Linked DNA regions of Homo sapiens: all the other regions are linked to region 2. The links are contacts of gene promoters, found by promoter capture Hi-C in human tissues and cell types (Jung and others, 2019). All regions are on one chromosome and are shown on one strand. The core of a region is centred on a gene start or on the middle of the fragment in contact, and the rest is flanking DNA. Distances in the headings are between cores, read along the strand shown. Region 1 holds the start of ZNF528 (zinc finger protein 528). Region 2 holds the start of ZNF331 (zinc finger protein 331). Region 3 holds the start of ZNF808 (zinc finger protein 808).

Region 1 (2,944 bases), core at 386-2,885, 1.1 Mb after region 2:
GCGCAGGCCATCAGGCCCAGCTAATTTTTGTATTTTTACTAGAGATGGGTTTCACATGTTGGCCAGGCTGGTCTCAACTCCTGACCTCAAGTGATCCGCTCACCTCAGCTTCCCAAAGTACTGGGATTACACGTGTGAGCCACAGCTCCTAGCCTCATGTGTTCTAAACAAATTTTATATTATAGAAAAATTAATATGTCACAATTCAATCATAATTTCCAATCAACTCACCACTCATCTGTAACCAGGGTCCCCCTCTTTCCTCACTACTGTTTCCCTGCCTCATTCTGTACATATCTCTCATTCTCATCTTTTTTCCTAGCTCTTTTTTTCTCTATTTTCCCCTAGGATTCTGTTCATTTTGAGTCCCTCCTCTTCTCTTTGTCCCATTCTTCCCTCTATTCCTTCTCTCCCACCTGTTCTGATCCATTTTTACAACTTGTTTCACCTCTTATTCCTCTTTCTGCCCAATCTTTCATTGTCCCTAATCTCCATATATTTCTGCCTCTTTCCTCCCACATCTCAGCTCCCCTTGGGGTCTCCCTGTTAAATTCCATCTTCGATATTACACACCCCTGTCCCCACTCTCTGGCACCCTTAGATCCCAGGCCTCCCCCTGCTGTGGTTCTCCCTGTTCTCCTTGTGACCAGCTGCCCCCTCTGGCTGTCCCAGCACCACGCTGCTCTGTCTGACCTGGCTCCAAATCCCTCCTCCTCTCCCCCCTCTGTCTGAGAAGCCTTCCCTATCTTGTTGAATTTCGTCTTTCTACAGACCCAGGTTTGTCTATATTTTTACAGTTACTTTTCTCCCCTGCTATTTTCTCGGCACCTTCTTTCACTGTGCCTCTGCAAACCCCTCACTCACCTTCTACTTTGCCTTCTGTTAATGGGTCTCTCATTCTTCATTTCTCTTTCAAAATTTCTCTATTTCCTCTGCCTCGTTCCCATCTCTTTTTCTCCACACATTCACAGGGAGGGGATTGGAATAAGATGCCCACTTCCGGAAGAGCTCATTTTCTGTGGGCTGGAAACTGGCTCGAGAGAACACTGGATGTCAGGAGACTGAAGTCACCCCCCACACTCGGGGTCAGGAGAACCGGTGGCTGGAAAAGGGAGGCCTGGGGAACAGAGGGTCCAGATTAAGGAGCAAAAAGGCAGGAGTGGGTCAGGAGAGGGGTGGAGTCTGCAGAAACCAGGTCTGGGCAGAGGACGAGGCCTCTCGTGCCCTGTTGGGGCGCTGAGCTCTAGGGGCAAAGAAGGGCGAGGCTAGGGGAACGGAGAGTGAGGATTTTACGTGGTGCGGGGCGTGTGTAGGGGTTACTAAAGGATTTGAAGCAGGTAAACCCCACGATAGGAGGTGTCTACGTGGGTAAATGACAAAAAGACCGGGCACACGACCAGCCTCCAAGCGATTTTAACACGCAGAAAGCGACTCCCAGACTCTCAAAGGATGTCTGAATTTACTCGGGGTGGAGGGAGCGGTGCCGGGATTTCAAGGTCTGCATGCCCCTCAGCTCCCGGGTATAGAAGCAGAGAAGAACTGGCTAGCCTAGACTTAACATAGACAAAGGGAAACTCACGCACTGCTGCGAAAACAGTTTCTCCCTGCAATCGGCTTCCGGGTCTACCGGAAACTGCGCTCTAGGCGTTCGCCCCCCGCGGTCCGCTTCCGGGTTTGCACGAAATTGCGCGCGCATCCTAGAGGCCGGACTGGCTGGGACCAGGGCGGGCCGGGACAAAGCCTGGGCCGGGCCTGCGCTTCCGTTCGCTTGACTGGCTGCGCTTGTTTTCAGGGTTTTGGTCTGAAAACGGATCTTACCTGCGCAGAGCAAAATCGGTTGTAGATTATATCCACGAAAATTCCTTCTATTAAAATGAATTTCAAGTCCCACCTACCCTGGAAGCAGAAAGAGAGAGAAGAGAGAGAGTAAAGAGAAAGAGAAAAGAAAGAGAAGTTGAAAAAGAGAAAGAAAACCAAGAAAGAAAGAGAAAAAAACCGAAAATAAATGGACAAGAAAGAAAAGTAAGGAGGGAAGGGAAGGGAGGAAGGGAAGGGAAGCTTTAGGAATTGAATTAACACACTTTGGAATTGTCTGTGAAGGGGATGATGCAAGCTAAAATGTGAAATGCAAAACCCTGCCAGGGTAGAATGTTCTATTTCATGCCAGTGCCCATAGAAGATAAATACTTTTCATTTATCTTCCCCATTCACTCTAGACGGTGAAGGTCAACCCTGTGCTCAATTCCAGAGACTTTCCTAGGGACATCGTGTTGGGCATGGAGGACTAAGGCCAGTGTGAAGATAAGTCACCGATTCTTTAAAAAAAAAAAGCCAGTAACTTATAAAAATAGCCATAAACGACGTAGTTTTTTGTTGTTGTTGTTGTTTTGAGACAGCGTCTCCCTCTGTCCCCCAGGCGGGAGTACAGTGGCAGGCACTCAGCTCACTGTAACCTCCGCCTCCTGGGTTCAAGTGATTCTCTTGCCCCAGCCTCCAGAGTAGCCACCACGCCCGGTCCAACTTAGTTTTTTAATACTTTTTAAAATTTTAAGACAGGGTCTCTGCCACCGAGGCTGAAATGCAGTGGCGCAATCATAGCTCACTGCAACCTTGACTTCCTGGGGTCCTGGGCAGGTGACCCCCTGTCTCAGCCTGCCGAGTAGCTGTGAGTAAAGGCCTGTGCCTCTCCACTGTGCTAATTTTCTACTGTTTGTTGCTTTGTTTTTAATAGAGATGTAGTCTGGTTTTGTTGCCCAGGCTGGTCTCCAGCTTCTAGCCTCAAGCAGTCTTCCCATCTGCTCCTACCAAAGTGCTCGGATTATAGGCATGAATCACCTTGCATGGGAGATAAGGACCCCCACATCAAGCCCTCAGGTTATTTTTGAAACACAAATACATAAGGCCCACAAGCAGGCCCATTGGCTGCAGACAGTGGGGTCACCTG
Region 2 (2,876 bases), core at 52-2,551:
TATGCGTGTTAATGCATTTCACCCTCCTCACAAGCCTATCTTCAGAAGGCTCAAAAAGCTAAGAGGCAGAAACAGGACTCAAATCTTGGTCATCTACCTTTAATGTTTGGTCTTAAGTCTTATAAACACATATCATTTAATATAAAAAAAAAAGGATACTCACCTGACCCTTTCAGATGTTTAACGATTCGTCTTCCTCCTCGGGGATGCTTTTTCTGAAGGATGCTGGCCTGGGGAAAACAGAACCGGAAGGGTAACACCTGCCATACCTAATAAAACCAATGAGAAATACGAGGCCCCGAGATGGAGTTTCTGGGAGATTCCTGAAGAGCACGCTGTGGCGATTGAGATGATGACGCGTGGAGCTGCCCCCCTCCCTGTCTCCCACATCAGGGACCTGTCCCTCTACAGGAGGAATTCTACTCCTGAGGCCACCGTCCCCTGTCACTCAGGTGGCCTGCATGCACAGCACTTCTGGCTCTGAAAGCGTCACCTCATGGCTGTTTCTGCCTTCTTGCTGGTGAATTTCCAGGCGAGGCTCAGGCGCTCACGTCCCTCCGCGGCCCTTGTTCTCAGGCAGGTACCGCTTGGTTAGGAGGTGAAGGCAGGGGAAGCAGCAGAGACGCTGGAGCTACAAGTTGCACTGTCACACACACCTGCATCACTCAGAAGGCCCGATCATCCATCCCAGCACAGAGACGCTGAAGCTACAGGTTGTGTTGTCACACACACCTGCGTCACCCAGAAGGCCCGATCACCCATCCCAGCACAAGTCTGCACAGCTCAGCCTCACCACAGCTCACTCTGTCCTGAGACACATCTGCGCCCCTCATACCCACTAACGCCCAGCACGGCCATGCTACGGGCCCCACCACCCCACACGGTGCAGAGGTGCATCCGTGGGCCACGGAGACCCGTCCCGACCGCTGCCCCCGCACAACCCCCAGAGCGCACCTCACGGAGCAGAGTCCCAGGGACGCACCGCCGAGGTTCACAGGCACGGGCTGCGTTGACCCAAAGCCTCTGGAGCACCCCCGGTCACCAGTTATGGGGAGAGCCCGGCTGTGTCACCCCACACTCTCCAGCAAGTGCGTCACCGTCAGAAGCCCCGTGCCCGTCTCCCCTCGGAGCCACGCGCACCAATCTCACCTGCGCGGACTGGCGGAGATGCAGCGGCTGCGTCACTGGTGCAAACGCGCACCCAGCACGGCCCCCATCGCCCCCAATGACGCTCGCGTGCACCCGTGTCACAGTTACGGGGACAGGGCCGCCGCGTCAGCCTCGTACTCCCACGCAAGTGCGTCACACACTCGGTCCCGCCACCCCCTGGAGGCCAGCGCGCATGCGCACGCGCACCCAGCGGCCGCAGCGCGCAGACAGCAGCAGAGCCCGACACGCATGTGCACACAGACCCCTACACGTATGTGCACGTACCCAGACCCCGACACGTATGTGAGCGTACACAGACCCCCGATACATAGCGTGCTCAGCTGTTGACGTGCCTGTGCGGGCACACAGACCCTGACGGGCGTGTGCGCACGCACAGATGCCGACACGCATGTGCAGACACAACAGAGCCCGACACACACGTGCGCCTGCACAGATGCTGACACGCGGACACACTGACACGTGTGCGTGCACCCCTCCCATCCCTTTCCCTCCTCCCACTCTCCCAAAGCCGCAGACGCACCCGGTAGTCCCCCAACGCTGGGGCCTCGGGAGAGGGTGAGGCTAGAAGAGGACGCGGGGCCGTCGGGGGAAACCAGAGCCCCAAGCCCCGTGTTCCAGCATGCAGCACGGCGTACTCCTGGATGGTCTCTGGGAAATGTAGTCCGGGACGGTCCCAGGCAGGGGCCTCAGGGCGCGTCCCAGGTCGGTGCCGGAGCGGGCAGCCCCAAGCTAAGCCCTTCCTGGTCCCTGCAGACGCCCCTTCCCGACTGGGAAAGGAGCTGTGTCACCCCAGCTGGGACCCCGTCTGGCCTCTTGAGTGGGGTGATGCCGGGCGAGCCATGGCTGTCCTCAGAAGGGTATCCTCTCCTAGCCCCTCTGGAGCGTCACCTGGAATTCTCTGCAGGCCGCTAGCACAGGCTGCCGGAGCTGCTATTCGGTGTCCCTTGCTTGCTGCATTGTAAACAATGTACAGGTAGCAGTTATGCCCCGTGAGTCCCGCTCTCATTCCAAGTACTAACGTCACAGGGTCTACAGGATGTTGCAGGTACTTAACCACAGTCTCATTTTGACTCAAAATCCCACTTTTTGGTATTTATGCCAAGGAAGTAGCTATAGTTGTACACAATGTTGAAGTATGTTCACAAAATGCTTTTTTTCTGAAAATCTTTTTCTCTTTTAATTAGATAGACTTTAGATTCATATGTAGTTACAAGAAATAAAATTGAGAGATCTTGTGTACCTTTCACCTGGTTACCTCAGCTGGTGATTGTAGTATATAATACCACAACCAGAAGATTAACATTGATGTAATCCACTGACGTTACCCAGAATTTCCAGAGAATAATTTTTTGTTTGTTTGTTTGTTTGTTTTGAGACGGAGTTTCGCTCTTGTTGCCCAGGCTCAAGTGCAATGGTGCGATCTCGGCTCACTGCAACCTCCGCCTCCTGGGTTCAAGGGGTTCTCCTGCGTCAGCCTCCCCAGTAGCTGGGATGACAGGCATGCGCTACCACGCCCGGCTAATTTTTTTTGTATTTTTAGAAGAGACGGGGTTTCTCTATGTTGGTCAGGCTGGACTCGAACTCCCGACCTCAGGTGATCCGCCTGCCTCGGCCTCACAAAGTGCAGGAATTACAGGCGTGAGCCACCACACCCAGTCGAGAATAATTTTTAAAAATGAAAATCTTGCAGTGGAGGATAAAGGAAA
Region 3 (3,273 bases), core at 119-2,618, 1.0 Mb after region 2:
CCTTCTCTCTCTAGCTCTTGTTTTCTTTTCTTTCTCCCTGGGATTCTGCTCTTCATTTTGTACCCCTCTTCTCTTCTGCTGTTTATCCCCCTTCTTCCCTCTATTCCTTCTCTTCCATCTCTTCTGCTCCATCCTCGCAACTTATTTAACCTCTTATTGCTCCTTCTCCCCAATCTTTCAATCGTCCTCAATCTCCATCTATTTCTGCCTCTTCACCCATCTCTGCGCCTCCTCTGCTCTCCCTGTTAAATTCTCTCTTCCCTGATATACTCCCCTGTCCCCACTCTGTGTCACCCCAGATCCCCAGGTGTCCTCCCTGCTGTGTTTCTCCCTCGGTTCTCCTTGACACCAGCACCACTCTGCTCTGTCTGCCCTGGCTCCAAATCCCTCCCTCTCTCCCTCACTCTGATGAGCCTCCCTCTTTGCTGCCACTCTCCCTACCTTGCCGTCCTTCATCTCTGTGTACATCTAGCTTTTCTCTACATTTCTCCAGTTGCTTTTCTCCACCTGCTTTTCTAGGTATTTTGTTGCTTTCTTTTTCCACTTTCACCATATCTTGGCATATCCCTCACCAATCCTCTATTTTGCCATCTGTTATGGGCCTTTCTTATTCTTTCTCTGTCTCAGGTTTTCTACTGCTGTCTGTCTCCTGATCCCTTCGGCCCACACAATCGCAGGAGGGTTTGGAGTAAGACGCCTGCATCCCGGAGGAGCGCGTTTTCCAAGGGCTGGAGCTCGGCAGGCAAGAAGACCCCATGTCACAGGACAGGGCCCTGCGTCCTTCCCAGTGTGGGTTCAATGGAAGCGGTGACTGCGGAGGAGAGACCTGGGGAGCCGCAGGCTCTGGCACGAGTAGGGAGGTGGGAGGAGGGGGGACGGCGCCTTGGGAGAAGGATGGGGTCTGCAAGATCCCAGGACCAGGCAGAGGACGCGGCCTCCCTGGGACTGGGGCTGCGGCGCGACGCTCCAGGGGCCGACGAGGGGTGGCTGGGAGGTGCGCCCCGGGCAAGAATCCACCTCGTGGGTGAAGACTTTAAATAGCGCGAGGAGGGAAGAGTCAGAAGAAGGTTTTGAGCAGAAAAACTACGCAATAGAAAGTGTATACATTGCCCTATAGCAGACAGACCCGGGACGGGACCAGCCTCCAGACGACTTTAAACCCGAAAGGAAGCGACACCCGGCCTCTCACTGGGCTGTCTCAATTTGCTCTGGGCGAAGGAAGACGGGCGAGAATTTCCAGGTCTGTGGGGACCCCACGTCCCAGGGACAGAAGCGGCGGGGACCTGGGAAGCGGAGACTTAATGCAACACAGAGCAAAACTCACCATGGCGACGTGACCTTCACTCCACCCGATCCGCTTCCGGGTTTGCGTTAATCTCCGCGCGCAGGACGGAAGCCAGGCCTGGGCGGGAGGTGGGAGGAGGTGGGCGGGGCCTGGGCGAGGTAGCGGCGGGGCGCGAGGCGCTGAGACCTTGCCCTTTAGAACCGGCAGAGGGCGGGGCCGGGGCGGGGCCGGGGCGGGACTTGCGCGTCTTTCAGCCTCTCTCCTAGCGTCTCTGTTTTTAGGTTGTGGAGGCGAGAGCGCCAGAAAGTCTGAGGCATGATTCCAAAGCCCTGGAATTGTCTGGAACCGGGATGCAAACTAGAATGTGAAATGCAAAGCCCTGCCTGGGCGGCATGTACGATGTCATGGTGACGGCCCACGGAACAGAATAGATGTCCTCTCCCTTTCTATCTCCATTCACTAGGGAGGGAGAGTCCACCCTGAGCTCAGCTTCAGAGACTTCCTTAAAGCCACCGCCAGGGGTGCGGGACGGAGTGCTTAGGCCAGGAAGGAGTGAGGTCACCACCTGCTGCTTAAACACAGCAGAGGCGCGGGGGCGGGAGCCTCAGGTCCCAGCTACTCAGGAAGCAACGGAGAGAATTGCTGAGCCTGGGGTCCCAAGCCAGCCTGGGCGACAAAGTAACACCCACTGCGGCAGGTCTCCCTTCCTAGTCTCTCTCTCTCTCTTTCCCTTTTTTTTTTTTTGGAGACAGAGTCTCACTCCGTCGCCCAGGCTGGAGTGCCGTGGAGTGATCCCAGCTCACTAGAACTTCCGCCTCCTGGTTTCAAGCGATACTCCGGCCTCAGCCTCCCGAGTAGCTGGGACTACAGGCATGCGCCACCATGCCCAGTTAATTTTGTATATTTAGTAGAGACAGGGTTTCACCATGTTAGCCAGGCTGAACTCCCGACCTCAGGTGATCCGCCCACGTCGGCCTCCCAAAGTGCTGGGATTACAGGCGTGAGCCACCGCGCCCGGGCCTTTTCCCTTTTTAAAAAAAAAAAAAAAACTTTTTTAAATAAAATTTTTGATGGTGTGACATAGGGATCCAACATTACTCTTTTCCATGTGGATATCCAGTTAGTTGTCCCAGCACATTTGTGGAAGAGATCTATTACTTTATTATTATTATTATTATTATTACTATTATTGAGACACAGTATTTCTGTTGCCCAGGCTGGAGTGCAGTGGCGAGATCTCAACTCAATGCAGCCTCTGCCTCCTGGGTTCAAGCGATTCTCCTGCCTCAGCCTCGGGAGCAGCTGGCATTACAGGCGCGTGCCACGATGCCCGGTTAATTTTTGTATTTTTCATAGAGACGGGGTATCACTACGGTGACCTGGCCGGTATCGAACTCCTCACTTTAAGTTATTTGCCTGTGTCAGCCTCCCAAAATGCTGGGATTACATGCGTCAGCCAACATGCCTGGCCCAAGAAATATTCTTTACTTTGCTTTTTAAATGTTGACAAAATATAATTGAAAACTAAAAAATATTATCCCAAATGAGAAATCATCTCCACGACGATAACAGAGAAAGAAATAAAAACCATTTTGTTAATAAATAAACCTTAGGACCGGGCATGGGGGCTCACGCTTGTAATCCCAGCACTTTGGGAGGCTGAAGCAGGCGGATCACGAGGTCAGGAGATCGAGGTCATCCTGGCTAACATGGTGAAACCCCGTCTCTACTAAAAATACAAAAAAATTAGCCAGGTGTGGTGGCGTGCACCTGTGTCCCAGCTGCTGGGGAGGCTGAGGCAGGAGAATGGCGTGAACCCAGGAGGCGGAGCTGGCAGTGAGCCAAGATAGCACCACTGCACTCCAGCCTGGGTGACAGAGCAAGACTCGGTCTCAAAAAAAACAAAAAAAAAAAATCAGCCGGGCGTGGTGCCCAGCGCCTGTAGTCCCAGCTACTCGGAGAGGCTGAGGCAGAAGAATGGCGTGAAC

Evidence for each region. Contacts are between HindIII fragments. The study calls those that stand out against the background at their distance.
Region 1: the fragment with the promoter of ZNF528 here is called in contact with the fragment with the promoter of ZNF331 in region 2 in 1 of the 25 tissues and cell types used here (dorsolateral prefrontal cortex).
Region 3: a contact is called between the fragment with the promoter of ZNF808 here and the fragment with the promoter of ZNF331 in region 2, in 2 of the 25 tissues and cell types used here (adrenal gland and liver).

Annotation. Positions count from the first base shown.
Region 1 is chr19:52,396,540-52,399,483 of GRCh38, reverse strand. It overlaps ZNF528 (zinc finger protein 528), which reads right to left and starts at 1,635. Exons shown (of 7, transcript NM_032423.3): 1 at 1,580-1,635; 2 at 865-1,117. ZNF528-AS1 (ZNF528 antisense RNA 1) reads left to right here and starts at 1,727. Exons shown (of 7, transcript NR_125345.1): 1 at 1,727-2,022; 2 at 2,217-2,289; 3 at 2,732-2,874. It also overlaps a transcript of ZNF880 not described here. RefSeq lists an enhancer at 1,124-2,323. The HindIII fragment of the contact is 17,909 bases long and covers 1-2,944 here.
Region 2 is chr19:53,536,570-53,539,445 of GRCh38, reverse strand. It overlaps ZNF331 (zinc finger protein 331), which reads right to left and starts at 1,301. Exons shown (of 6, transcript NM_001079906.2): 1 at 1,150-1,301; 2 at 164-230. RefSeq lists enhancers at 1,222-1,271, 1,057-1,573. The HindIII fragment of the contact is 21,395 bases long and covers 526-2,876 here.
Region 3 is chr19:52,525,763-52,529,035 of GRCh38, reverse strand. ZNF808 (zinc finger protein 808) reads right to left here and starts at 1,368. Exons shown (of 5, transcript NM_001039886.4): 1 at 1,325-1,368. RefSeq lists enhancers at 1,095-1,922, 1,923-2,749. The HindIII fragment of the contact is 14,459 bases long and covers 1-3,273 here.